2 separate regions of the Homo sapiens genome follow, and region 2 is linked to region 1. Evidence: promoter capture Hi-C in 16 types of primary human blood cells and fetal thymus (Javierre and others, 2016). All regions are on one chromosome and are shown on one strand. The core of a region is centred on a gene start or on the middle of the fragment in contact, and the rest is flanking DNA. Distances in the headings are between cores, read along the strand shown. Region 1 holds the start of FASTKD1 (FAST kinase domains 1). Region 2 holds the start of METAP1D (methionyl aminopeptidase type 1D, mitochondrial).

Region 1 (6,980 bases), core at 1,184-3,683:
CCTGTCTCAAAAAAGAAAAGAAAAGAAAATTGTGCTAAAACTGGTTTTATGACAATAACCATGACCACATAAACCAAGAGTCTCCTCTGTAACCCACACAATAAGAAAGTTGCCCCCTCTCCCTCTCCCTCTCCCTCTCCCCACGGTCTCCCTCTCCCTCTCCCTCACGGTCTCCCTCTCCCTCTCTTTCCACGGTCTCCCTCTGATGCCGAGCCGAAGCTGGACTGTGCTGCTGCCATCTCGGCTCACTGCAACCTCCCTGCCTGATTCTCCTGCCTCAGCCTGCCAAGTGCCTGCGCGCTGCCACGCCTGACTGGTTTTCGTATTTTTTTGGTGGAGATGGGGTTTTGCTGTGTTGGCGGGGCTGGTCTCCAGCTCCTAACCGCGAGTGATCCGCCAGCCTTGGCCTCCCGAGGTGCCGGGATTGCAGACGGAGTCTCGTTCACTCAGTGCTCAATGGTGCCCAGGCTGAAGTGCAGTGGCGTGATCTCGGCTCGCTACAACCTCCACCTCCCAGCCGCCTGCCTTGGCCTCCCAAAGTGCCGAGATTGCAGCCTCTGCCCGGCCGCCACCCCGTTTGGGAAGTGAGGAGCGTCTCTGCCTGGCCGCCATCCCATCTAGGAAGTGAGGAGCGTCTCTGCCCAGCCGCCCATCGTCTGAGATGTGGGGAGCGCCTCTGCCCCACCGCCCCGTCTGGGATGTGAGGAGCACCTCTGCCCGGCCGCGACCCCGTCTGGGAAGTGAGGACCGTCTCTGCCCGGCCGCCCCGTCTGAGAAGTGAGGAGACCCTCCGCCCGGCAGCCGCCCCGTCTGAGAAGTGAGGAGCCCCTCCGCCCAGCAGCCGCCCCGTCAGGGAAGTGAGGAGCGTCTCCACCCGGCAGCCACCCTCTCCGGGAGGGAGGTGGGGGTCAGCCCCCGCCAGGCCAGCCGCCCCGCCCGGGAGGGAGGTGGGGGGGTCAGCCCCCCGCCCGGCCAGCCGCCCCGTCCGGGAGGGAGGTGGGGGCGGTCAGCTCCCCGCCCAGCCAGCCGCCCCGCCCGGGAGGGAGGTGGGGGCGGTCAGCCCCCCGCCCGGCCAGCCGACCTGCCCGGGAGGGAGGTGGGGGGGTCAGCCCCCCGCCCGGCCAGCCGCCCCGTCCGGGAGGGAGGTGGGGGGGTCAGCCCCCCGCCCCGCCAGCCGCCCTGTCCGGGAGGTGAGGGGCGCCTCTGCCCGGCCACCCCTACTGGGAAGTGAGGAGCCCCTCTGCCCGGCCACCACCCCGTCTGGGAGGTGTACCCAACAGCTCATTGAGAACGGGCCATGATGACAATGGCGGTTTTATGGAATAGAAAAGGGGGAAAGGTGGGGAAAAGATTGAGAAATCGGAAAGTTGCTGTGTCTGTGTAGAAAGAAGTAGACATGGGAGACTTTTCATTTTGTTCTGTACTAAGAAAAATTCTTATCCTGTTGATCTATGACCTTACCCCCAACCCTGTGCTCTCTGAAACATGTGCTGTGTCCACTCAGGGTTAAATGGATTAAGGGCGGTGCAAGATGTGCTTTGTTAAACAGATGGTTGAAGGCAGCATGCTCCTTAAGAGTCATCACCACTCCCTAATCTCAAGTACTCAGGGACACAAACACTGCAGAAGGCCGCAGGGTCCTCTGCCTAGGAAAACCAGAGACCTTTGTTCACTTGTTTATCTGCTGACCTTCCCTCCACTATTGTCCTACGACCCTGCCAAATCCCCCTCTGCGAGAAACACCCAAGAATGATCAATAAAAAAAATAAATAAATAAAATAAAAAAAAGAAAGTTGCACAGCATATTCCAACAAATATCAGTTTGGTACCTTTAGAGCCTTACTTTGTTGTAGTGATTATCAGCTGAAAATTATGTCTGTTGTAACTTTGGTAAGCATTCCACTTTGGTTATTTATTAGTGGTATTTTTTTTTTAAGTGTCAAGTGTCAAATCTTGGGACTATTAAAATACCATGGTAAGTAAAAAAAAAATATGGTCTGAGAACTGGTACCTATCCACGACATAAGTGCAGAAACTGAGAGTATGAGTTTGCATACTTTCAAAGTTACTCGACAGAGTTATTTCGTATATGCTAAAAAATAATAAGAAAAATCTGTACGTGTCTTTTCCATGTTTACATTTTTAAATTTCATTTTCCTAAGTATATTTTTGTGTATATTATAAAAGTAGTAGACTTCCAAGGACTAGGAGAACAACCTTAGATAGTAGAGAATCACCTAAACGACCTATATCTTCTTCAACAGCTTAAGCTGTGTACTGCGCTAGAGCCTCCCTCAATGAGGAACTACAATGCCCAGAATTCCCCCAAAATGCGTGAGCGACGTCCATTTCACCCACCTCGCCGCGACCCACCCTGGGATATGTAGTGCGTGACTTCCGCAGTGCACGCTGCGCCTGCCGGGCATTTTTTCCTGGTTTGGGGGCAAGGTCTCATGGGAAAGGTCATGTCTCTCGAAGAAAGGTTATAAACCCTGAGATATGAGGGTTGGGCGAGACATCCGAGCCTGTTTCGTTCCGTGTTGGGACCAGGAATAACCCTGACTTCTGAGCTTTCATAACCCCAGGATCCTCCAGAAAATTTGCGGCGCGCTGAGGGAAAACCTTGCTGGCAAGTCGGGACTGTGTGGCAGCGGCTATTTTTCTTTTCCCACCCAGCACGTTTTCGGGCTGGGGACATAGGGTTCAGTTGAGATACGGAGGCTTCCTTCGGGATATTGGGTTCTCTGAAGTGCGGATGGACTAGGGCAGGGCTGAGACCCCATTCATTCACTCATTTGTTTAGCTCTCCTTTATGCCCGGCGCAGAAGATACCCCTTAGGGTCCCAAGGCCCTTCCTGTAGTTAAGTTCCTTCCTTAAGGTCATTCAGCTGGGGCAAAGCTGGGGACTCGACACCTTTCTATGCTAACCATTGAGCTGCCTCCACTTTGAGCAGCTCAGTGGATGAATATAGTATCTTGAGGATACCTTTGATTTGTGCAGGGTTTTCTTGTGCAGGTTTGTGACCCAGGTCAGCTTAGGTCAGGATGCTGTACTGCTTGCCACAAAATAGCCTGTACTGTCGCGTCGTTTTTTCTTGTGAACAGACTGTTTGGCATAGCCGTAGAGAGGGGTCTGAGACATGAATTTAGTGATACAGCGTTGATTTGTTTGTGTAATGAAGCTGTTCAAGTGGAAAGAACTGAGTTGTAGTCCCTGCTTCACTAGTACTAGAAGGATTTTTTAAACCTTTTTGAACCTATTTTGCCTTATCTGTAAAATGGAAATAATATCAACCTGGAAGGTTAGCTGAGAGAATTTAATGAGATAATGTGTTTCAAACGTTCTTTGTAAATGGTAACATGTTGCAGAAATATTAGATTATATGACTTTAGTCCCTGCTTTTCTAACCATTACTTCTCAATTATAAATGTAAACATTTATAGCATATTTTTAAAACAAATTATTCTTTTTTCATAATTATCTTTAGTTCTTTTATTGTTTCAGCATGACTTGAAACATTACTTAATTTCTTAGTATTTCTTGATTGGTGCTTTAATTGTGTCGTTCATTGGTTAAAACCTATCCAAGGCCAGTAATGATTAAATTATATGACTTCTTTTATTTATTTATTTTCTAAAGAAAGGAATTATTTGAGCTCTTTAAGGGCACAAGAAAAAGGGGCAAGAAATTATCCTGAAAGCAAATAAACCTGAGACCATACTTCTGAAAAATTAAAAAAAAAAAGTATATATATATGTATGTATAAATATATATGGCTCTGAATTAATGCCTACACTTTTTAGAAACTTTGAAGGTGATTATTTATTTTAAACAATTTTCCTCTTTTTCGAAAAGACAGCTCTGAGTTTGTGGGCTTTTTTTTTCCTTTTATGGTAAATTTGAAAACTTTATGTAAATGTCAGATTTAAAACACTTTTAAAATGGGGTGCAGAAAGAAGCCCCTTTTTCTGGACATTTATTTTTTGATCAAATTCTGCTATCTGGTTTAGACTAAGAAAAAGTCTTTAGTTAATGCAGAAAAAATGTATTACTTTAATTTGAATTTTGGAATCATTTTGATATTAATGATGTAAGCATAACCATGTTAAACCAATTCTTTTATAGAAGCTGTACATTGGAATGCGTTTACAGTCATTGTAATGGAAGCAAAATACATGAAGGAAAAACTGTTATTTGTATCCCTGCTTATTGCACCTGACGACTAGTTGCAGATGGTTTTGTTTACCTAAGAAAACTTGTGATATAAATGAAAAAAACACCTGTTTTCCTAGAGTCATTGGTTACAAATATGCTTCGTCTAAGAGCTATTTGTCCATTCTCCTGGAGAGTGTTTCAATTTCGACCCATCAGTTGTGAACCACTAATTATTCAGATGAATAAGTGTACAGATGAGGAGCAAATGTTTGGTTTTATTGAAAGAAACAAAGCCATACTTTCAGAAAAGCAAGTGGGATGTGCATTTGATATGCTTTGGAAGCTTCAAAAGCAGAAGACCAGCCTGTTAAAAAATGCTGAGTATGTCAGAGACCATCCTCAATTTCTTACTCTTCATAATTTAGCTACAAATAAATTCAAATTAATGAATGACGATACCCTGGTGAATGTGTTATACGTCACACAACAGTAAGTAATTTACTTTTATATTTTATGGAATGATTATATAGTTTACATTTTAATTTTCTAAAAATCTCTTTATTTTCATTTTATTTATTTATTTTTGAGGAGTCTCTGTCGCCCAGGCTGGAGTGCAGTGGCATGATCTCGGCTCACTGCAAGCTCTGCCTCCCAGGTTCACGCCATTCTCCTGCCTCAGCCTTCCGAGTCAATGGGACTACAGGCGCCTGCCACCACGCCCGGCTAATTTTTTTGTATTTTTAGTAGAGACGGGGTTTCACCATGTTAGCCAGGATGGTCTTGATCTCCTGACCTTGTGATCCGCATGCCTCGGCCTCCCAAAATGCTGGGATTACAGGCGTGAGCCACTGTGCCAGGTCTAAAAATCTCTTCAAAATGAAAAATAATTTTTTTCACCAGTAGTTTTCCTGATAATCTAATTTTTTTGTTTTGTTTTGTTTTGTTTTGAGGCGGAGTCTTGCTCTGTCACCAGGCTGGAGTACAGTGGCACAATCTTGGCTCACTGCAACCTCCGCCTCCCAGGTTCAAGCAATTCTCCTTTAACAACTGTAATACTATTGTTAACTGTGGGCATTTGAAATTGGATTATTGTGGAGTTTTGTGAAAATGTGGTTGGCTGCAGATGAGGATATAGTAGGTAAGCAGTTAGATTTAAGATTAATGCCAGTCGGGTGTGGTGACTCACACTTGTAATCCCAGCACTTTGGGAGGCTGAGGTGGGTGGATCACCTGAGGTCAGGAGTTCAAGACCAGCCTGGCCAACATGGTGAAACCCTGCCTCTACTAAAAATACAAAAATTAGCTGGGCGTGATGGCAGGCACCTGGAATCCCAGCTACTCTGGAGGCTGAGGCAGGAGAATCTCTTGAATTCACGTGGTAGAGGTTGCAGTGAGCACAGATCATGCTACTCTACTCCATTCTGGGCGACAGAGTGAGACGCTGTCTCCAAAAAAAAAAAAAAAAAGTAATGCCTAATAACAATCAGCAATTAGTAAATTTTGTCTGTGATAACTTGTTTGCAATCTCGTTATTGTAATTAAATGGACGGCACATATGTTTTCTAGGGGGTATTGGTACAATAGGTTGTTTCTCAATAATAGCCCTTAAAAGGAAAAAGAAATAAAATGATTTTGTAGATTCATTTATATTTGATAACAATGTTATACAAATTATGTGGATGGTTGATAGGTATTACGTAAAGAAGGGCTTCCTTGGTGTCAGTGGAAAAACTCAGAGATAAATGTTAAGAAATATTACATTCCAGTTTTGGGATTTGTGAAGAAAAAATGAAGAGAGCAAAGAAAAAAGGAAAAAAAATAAAAAGAAATATGTTGTTTGCAAGGAAATCCAGCCTTCAAAAGAACTGGGTTCCCTGAATGAAGGCTTCAGCAGTTGTACAAGGGGGAAAAAACAAAAAAGTTACACCTAATCTGTTTATTAGTCTCACTGATGAAAAAGAGCAGTTTTCTCACATGATGACCCAACCTTCAGGGGTTATTTAAATGGCTGTAAATATCAGCATTACGTAAGTTAGAGACGTGTAAGTTGTTTTTGTAAGAGAATTGGCATTTATAGGAAAGGGGCTTGGGGCTTATATTGGGGATTGATGTTAAACTGAAAAAGGATGATTCCATGTTTTTTGGTGGCCTTTCTCAGGTTACAAAGTTGTTTTCTCTGAGGTACTTGAAGGGGATGCTTAAAGTTTTGTGAATAAGGTGATTGGTGACTATTAGCTTTTTAATTTTTTTACAAACATTTTCTTATAAAAATATTTTATTTATTTATTTATGAGGTGGAGTCTCACTCTGTCACCGAGGCTGGAGTGCAGTGGTGCAGTCTCGGCTCTCTGCAACCTCTACCTCCAGGGTTCAAGCAATTTTCCTGCCGTAGCCTCCTGAGTAGCTGGGATTAAAGGCACATGCCACCACGCCCAGCTAATTTTTGTATTTTTAGTAGAGACGGGGTTTCACCATGTTGCCCAGGCTGGTCTCGAACTCCTGACCTTAAGTGATCCGCCCGCCTCAGCCTGCTAAAGTGCTGGGATTACAGGTGTGAGCCACCATGCCTGATCAAAAGTATTTAAATCAGAACAAAGACATATTATATGTACTTTTAACATAAATATATTGTTGAACATTATCATTGGTCAGTAGCATGGGTATTGAAATAAGCAGATAAAAGGGTGAGAGGGCATGGGATAAAGTATAGATGTTTATTAGGCTGTACCAAAAAATCAGAATATTGAAATAAGAGTGGACCAGAAATAAGGACTGCCTGTATAAGAGGAAAATAACTTGAGTTTCACTTTTGCATTATCATTCG
Region 2 (7,003 bases), core at 3,723-6,222, 2.4 Mb before region 1:
AGAAAGGAAGCAAGCTAGCTGTTTCAAATAGAGGAAAACACATACAAGTATGTATGGATTTAGGAGCACTTTAGAGCCAAGGTTTCATAAGTATTTCTTAATCTGTGTAGTAACATGCCATATTATAATAGAATTGGAATGTATTTGTTAAAAGATGTCATACGGCAAAACTCCATTTCCATTCTCTGGATGTCAACAGGAATGTAGTCTAAGTAATAGGAAGCTAAACTTAGGAATGTTAGCATTTTCCAAATCACCCATGAATTGCATCCCAAAAGTTTAATTATAAGTTGGTTTGGCGGCTGGGCGTGGTGGCTCATGCTTATAATCCCAGCACTTTGGGAGGCCGAGGCAGGTGCGTCACCAGAGGTCAGGAGTTCGAGACCAGCCTGGCCAACATGGCGAAACCCCCGTCTCTACTAAAAATACAAAAATTAGCCGGGCATGGCGGCGGATGCTTGTAATTCCCACTACTCAAGAGGCTGAGGCAGGAGAATCACTTGAATTTGGGTGGCAGAGGTTGCAGTGGGCCAAGATCACACCACTGCATTCCAGCCTGGGCAACAGAGCAAGACTCCGTCTCGATTTAAAAAAAAAAAGAAAAGTTGGTTTGGCAAAACTGAGCAGACATTTTCCTGCAGAAGCTATACAAGATAGCAAGGATCTCAGGGCAGTTGGCAAAAGTTTAAAGTACTTAACTCATGATGTATAACAGCCCCTCCCCTGCCTGGCTATTACATTTTTGAAAAACCACTAAGGTAACAAAATTCTCAGTGGAGGAGTCTAGGGCCTTACAGTCACAAGTGAACAAAAGTACTTCTAAGTTTTTTTTATATTTGTTAAAAATAAGTAAATGGCCAGGTGCGGTGGTTCATGCCTGTAATCCCAGCACTGTGGGAGGCTGAGGCAGGCGGATCACTTGAAGTCAGAAGTTCAAGAGAGACCAGCCTGGCCAACATGGCAAAACCCCGTGTCTACTTAAAAATACAAAAATTAGCCAGGCGTGGTGGTGGGCACCTGTGGTCCCAGCTACTCGGGAGGCTGAGGCAGGAGAATCACTTCAACCCGGGAGGCAGAGGTTGCAGTGAGCCAAGATCGCACCACTGCACTTCACCCTGTGCTACAGGGCGAGACTCTGTCTCAAAAAAAAAAGAAAGAAAATATGCCCTCTTACTTGCTGTATTAGTCTGTTCTCACACTGCTATGAAGAAATTCCTGAGACTGGGTAATTTATAAAGAAAAGGGGTTTAATTGACTCACAGTTCTGCATGGCTCGGGAGGCCTCAGGAAATGTATAATCATGGCAGAAGGCACCTCTTCACAGGGTGGCAGGAGAGAGAATGAGTGCAAGCAGGAGAAAATGCCAGACGCTTATAAAACTATCAGATCTCCTGAGACTCACTCATTATCACAAGAACAGAATGGGGGAAACTATCCCCATGATCCAATTACCTCTACCTGGTCCTGCCCTTGACACATGGGGATTATTACAATTCAAGCTGAGATTTCCTTGTTCCTCTTCATATTCACTGGGATCTTGCTTCGTGGCCCGAGCTAGACCTGGGATTCCAGTGAAGCGAGGGCTGGGAGTGAGACTGAGATAGGAGAGAGTTCCTGGGGCCCCAGGGTAGGGATTCTGTACTCTGAGGAAGGGATTTCCTGCCAGCACTAATACTTGGGAGTATTTTAGTCCCTTAAAGGCCCTTGTTACCTTCTCTCTTGGTTCCAAGAGGCTGATCTGTCTTTTCCTCTTTCCAATGTCACTACTCATAGTTTCTACCCAACCCTCCTTAGACCATGATGGAAGAGAACAAATCTTAACAGCCTCTCAATTCTGTATACTTTTAATGAGCTTAACTTTGAGCCAGGTACTGTGCTTATAAAGACAGAAAGATACATAAGACAAAGCTTCTGTTCAACAAGAATTAATAATCTAGTAAGGAGCAGAAATGGTGAGAGGAGCTAGGTAACTACTGTATATAGGGTATACTGTGACCAAAGCCACAATGAGTTGAGGCGTCACAAGAGAAACCTCATGCCTTTTTTAAAAGGTTAAAAAAAAGTCTTCCTCTATTTCAAGAAGAAATGATGCTCATAAATGCTGATAATAAATCCTGGTACATGAAGACTTGTAATGGATTGCTTTACATAAATCTAGATGGGTGAAAGGGAGGAAGAGGGTGGAGAGAGGAGTCTTCGTGAATTTACCCTTCATTTTCAATTCTTGGGGGTGGGGAGCAGGAAAACCTCTCTGCAATTTAAAACTAGCTATGGGTAGTCCAAAAAGGGGCCCTTTCTCCATCATTAAAATAGCTTCCTGATGACACATTTTTCTTCTCTCCTCTAATCAGAGGATCCACTTCTTGGTTGTTGCAACACTTTGGGATACAGTGGGATGGATTATAGGAACCAATAACTTGGCCTGACTTCCATATAATATATTTTCTCAAGACTGTCTAAACCACCATTTGTCAAAATAATAAGTGATCAAAAAGAAAGAAAAGATTAATGCTATTTCTGTTATCTGCAAAGAGATGTTATATATACAGTTGGTGCAAAGTAATCACAGTTTTTGTCATTGATTCTAAAACTGCAATTACTTTTGTACCAACCTAATACATATATACACACATATAAAAATACGTTTATACATGCATAGGTGTATATATATATACATACATACACCTATGTATGTTTTCAGGTTGTTTTTTTTTTGGCTCCTCCTCTACATTGACTATCTCCTCAGATCCTTCTCACCATTACCTGAAGCATACAAAAATGAAGTCTAAAAGCCATGATTTCTTGTGAAAAGAGGAAACAGAAAAGTAATTAGTAAAGAAAGTTTGGACTGGAACCCAGATCTTTTTTTTTTTTTTTTCAGCTCACTACAACCTCCGCCTCCTGGGTTCAGGCGATCCCTCCCACCTCCACCTCCCAAGTAGCTGGGATTACCAGCATGTGCCACCACACCTGGCTAATTTTTGTATTTTTAGTAGAGACAGGTTTCACCATGTTGGCCAGGCTGGTCTTGAACTCCTGGCCTCAAGTGATCTGCCCGCCTTGGCCTCCCAAAGTGCTGGGTAATATTACAGGCATTAGCCACCTTGCCAGGCCTGGCACCCAGATCTTGAGAGATGTAAATTGGCTGTCTTTTCACAAGGCTACACTCTCATGCTGATGTCCATTCCTTCATGCAACCAGTCCAAAATGCTCGCTACATCACCTTCCCCATACACATCTCTCCCCTCAAATCTTCCTGTGGCCCCTTTCTCATCTCCACTAACACTGAAATACTGAAGTCTATTCGATTACCAACCTTCTTCCTCTCTAAAAATATCTTCCTCTTCACTTCTTATTTTTTATTATTTTTATTTATTTTTTTTTTCTGAGACGGAGTCTCGCTCTGTCGCCCAGGCTAGAGTGTAGTGGTATGATCTCAGCTCACTGCAACCTCCACCTCCTGGGTTAAAGCAATTTTCCTACCTCAGTCTCCCGAGTAGCTGGGATTACAGGCATGCGCCACCACGCCCAGCTAATTGTGTATATTAGTAGAGACGGGGTTTCACCATGTTGGCCAGGCTGGTCTTGAACTTCTGACCTCAAGTGAGCCACCTGCCTCGGCCTCCCAAAGTGCTGGGTTTACAGGTGTGAGCCACCGTGCCCAGGCTCTCTTCACTTTTTGTACACACTCATCCTGCACTGTCTCTGCTGAACTTTACACACTGACTTCTATGGAGTGACCACGTCATGCAGTACCGAGAAATGAGTCTTAAAAAAAAAAATTAGAGTCATGTTCAAATGAGCAATCTGCCTCTTACCATTTATGCGACCTTAGTAATGTTACTTAACCTCTCTAGCCTTACTTTTCCCTTCTGCAAAGAGAAAATAATTCCTAACTCACTGGGTTTTTGTTTTTGTTTTTGAGACAGGGTCTGGCTCTATTGCCAAGTCTGGAGTTCAGTGGTACGATCACGGCTCACTGCAGCCTCTTGACCTCCCAGGCTCAAGCGATCCTACCACCTCAACCCCCAGAATAGCTGAGACTACAGGCATGTGTCACCACGCCCGACTAATTTTTAAAATTTTTTGTAGAGACGGGGTCTCATTCATTGAGTTTTAAAAGGAAGCAAGCATATGTAAGGCGCTTAACACAGTATCGTGTACTTAAAAGGCACTTAATAAACAGTAGCTGTTACTATGAAAATAATATTTACCTCACAAAACTGTTCCTACATGCCTGACGCTTAAGTAGCTCCTCAAAATATGATAGTTTTCCTCTTCCCCCGTCCTTGGAAAAACTTTCTAGTTCTTTCCAACAAAGATTCAGCACCTAGTTCAAATCCAACAAAGATTTCCCCAATTCTGCTGCAAAGGCATTTGTATATTTACTAAAATCTCAACACTCACGCAGGATAAAACCTACTTAGAACTACCCAGACATCCTTTCTTATCTTCTTAACTTTAAGTCACTGGAAGAAAACCATCACATTTTGCAAGTCCCCAAAAAGCATGCCTGCATAAAAGCTCTAGGGAAGGGAACCGGGTGTCCAGATGCATTTCAGAATTACCATAGGTTTCCTTGCTCGGCATACAGAATAAATGTTGGTTACACTAATGATACAACCGAAGTTGGGGAAAAAAACTTCAGACAATGGCCCGCAAATCTCAAGGAGTAATTGCGAAAAGATGCCACGTGGTGACGTGTTCTAGGCGGGTGATCAGTGAACAAATTTGTATGTGTGATCCTGTGGTGTGTGAATGTGTCATCGTGTGTGCCTGCGTGTGTTCGTAAACACTGAAAGTACAGTCGTGTGCGCCGAGAAGTCTGAGCGCGGGTGCGCATCCCTTTGGACCCGGGTGCGTACCTAGTGAGCAACCGTGCGAACCCTCACGGGGCTCTCCTCCACGCGCTTACCTCTGCGGACGAGCAGGTGGACGCCACTGGGCGCCGCCATGTTGGCGTCGGTCACGTGGCCGCGAGCACTCGCTCGCCGCCCCGCCCGCTGGAGCCGGCCAGTCGCAGCCCTGCCGAAGCCCTGAGGCGTCGAGGCCGCCCGAGGGGAGCGCGCGTGCGCGCGCGGGGCTGACTGCGGGAGCCCTGGCTGGGAAGCGGCTAGGGCACCCGGGCAAGCAGCAGAACCCGCGGCCGGCTGAGTCCTCTCCAGCCGCGAGAGGCGGGCTCCAGCCGCGGCTCGCGCGCTCGCTCTGAGCCCCCGCGCCCAGGTGGGATGGAAGAAGCCTGTCAGGTAAGCGTGGCATCCAATATTTATAGCATCAACATTTTGGTGCATGGAAACGTGAAGTTGGGCGGAAAAAATAAAGCACAATCTAGTGTTCAACATAGCACTTTGTATCGTCTGCCACTCTGTTGCAAATTATTCCCCTGGATTCAGTTGAAAGGTAAAATTTGGTTCAAAGTCACCAGCTCCCCTTTTGCTGTCCCAGAATCTACATTACTCAGCAGAGACTCCAGACAACACAGGATCTGTGTGTCGCTGCAAAATCTATTCTAGGTACCCCAGTGGGTATGTTCAGGAGACTTCTCTTTCTCCAAGGACGCCTTCTGCTTGGCAGTATTAACTGGAGTCTTAATCCTAAATTTGGAGTTTAAGTATAAAAGGATGACGCCTGCCAATTGCATTGCCAAGAGAAGAAGCCTACAGAAGGCCAATTGTGAATCAGATGAGGGAGCTGATGTATGCCTACTGATGACGGTGCCCATTTTTACCAAATTCACTGTCTCTCTTACCTGTGTTCTGGGGTAGATGCCATCCTGTCATGGACCAGGTGTTATTCATCTTAGTAGCCTCCGTGCCCGGCACAGAACCCGATACCCGAGGAATGTCAGGTGAAGCAATTGAACACTGCATGAAACCAGTCAAACTGAGAATGTAACCGTTTCCAGACTTTAAATGCAGTGAAGATTGATTAGGATTCTCAGTGAATGTGTGTGATGTCTTCTAATTAATTTTTAAGCACTACACACTCAGTGAATAATCTAGACAATTCAGAACAATTCAGAAATAAGGAACAAGTGCAAGCCCCTTCCTCGCCCTCTGTACATACCATAGTCCCACTCCCCAGTTAACCACCGTGTGCTCAATTGAGATCTTTGCCTTTTACACACAGGCAAATGTAAGTATTTTAAATAGAATCATATGACTTGCTTTTTCCATTCCAGTCATCATAGGCATCAAATCTTAGAACACTTAGTTCAGACTTATTCTTTTTAATGACTATATAATCTTGATATTTTTACTTTTAAAGAGAGTGAATGTTGGCATTTCATTAGAGGACACATGCTATAATTCTGGAAAACCTGGTTTTGGATGCTTTTGGGTCACCTTGAAAGATAAAGAGAAGTAATGCTTTCCATCAGGGTAAATAAGATGCACAAGAATGAGAATAAAATGTACTCCTACCTTTTGCAAACTCATTTCAATTCCAGGGAGAGCATTTTTGAATGTGGCAAATCTGTCCTCTGTGTAACTGAGGCCAGCAATCTGAGTGCAGCAAAGGAGCCTGAGAGTTAGCTGGCCACAGAGTCTTAAGCAGTGTACAGAAAAAAGAAATCTAGACATCCCTATTCCTTAAGGCATCAAGCCTAGTTTCAAACCCATCTGAAATAGAACACATGTTCATGTGACTTAACTCAGCCAACCCTTGGAAAATAAATGAATGCTTTATTCCCCTACAACTAAAAGGAAAAGGAAACACTATGAGGACCCAGGTGGCACCAGCAGTAGTGGAATCCAGTGAGGAAATCCTCAATAAGTTCGGCATGGAATGTAGATATCTGGGATGAGCTAGAAATGAAGCAAATATGAACTTGCACAGGTGATAGCTCATCCACTGACCCTGGATCTGGCTTCTCTCATACACATCCTTCTCACCGCAGAAGGGTTAAAAGCTGCCAGCACATGTCCGCCAAAACCATCAACTTATGGGATATAAGCTGGGTGTGGTGGCTCATGCCTGTAATCCCAGCACTTTGGGAGGCGAA

Evidence for each region. Contacts are between HindIII fragments. The CHiCAGO score rates a contact against its expected background, and 5 or more counts as called.
Region 2: a contact is called between the fragment with the promoter of METAP1D here and the fragment with the promoter of FASTKD1 in region 1, in 2 of 17 cell types (non-activated CD4 T cells and total CD4 T cells). The highest score is 9.2, in non-activated CD4 T cells.

Annotation. Positions count from the first base shown.
Region 1 is chr2:169,569,318-169,576,297 of GRCh38, reverse strand. It overlaps FASTKD1 (FAST kinase domains 1), which reads left to right and starts at 2,433. Exons shown (of 15, transcript NM_024622.6): 1 at 2,433-2,629; 2 at 4,127-4,645. The coding sequence starts at 4,269. RefSeq lists enhancers at 2,222-2,321, 2,224-2,826, 2,682-2,851. The HindIII fragment of the contact is 12,279 bases long and covers 1-4,501 here.
Region 2 is chr2:171,997,922-172,004,924 of GRCh38, reverse strand. METAP1D (methionyl aminopeptidase type 1D, mitochondrial) reads right to left here and starts at 4,972. Exons shown (of 10, transcript NM_199227.3): 1 at 4,916-4,972. The coding sequence starts at 4,955. It overlaps LOC124905590 (a long non-coding RNA gene), which reads left to right and starts at 5,016. Exons shown (of 3, transcript XR_007087296.1): 1 at 5,016-5,246. RefSeq lists a silencer at 4,978-5,277. The HindIII fragment of the contact is 8,153 bases long and covers 1,911-7,003 here.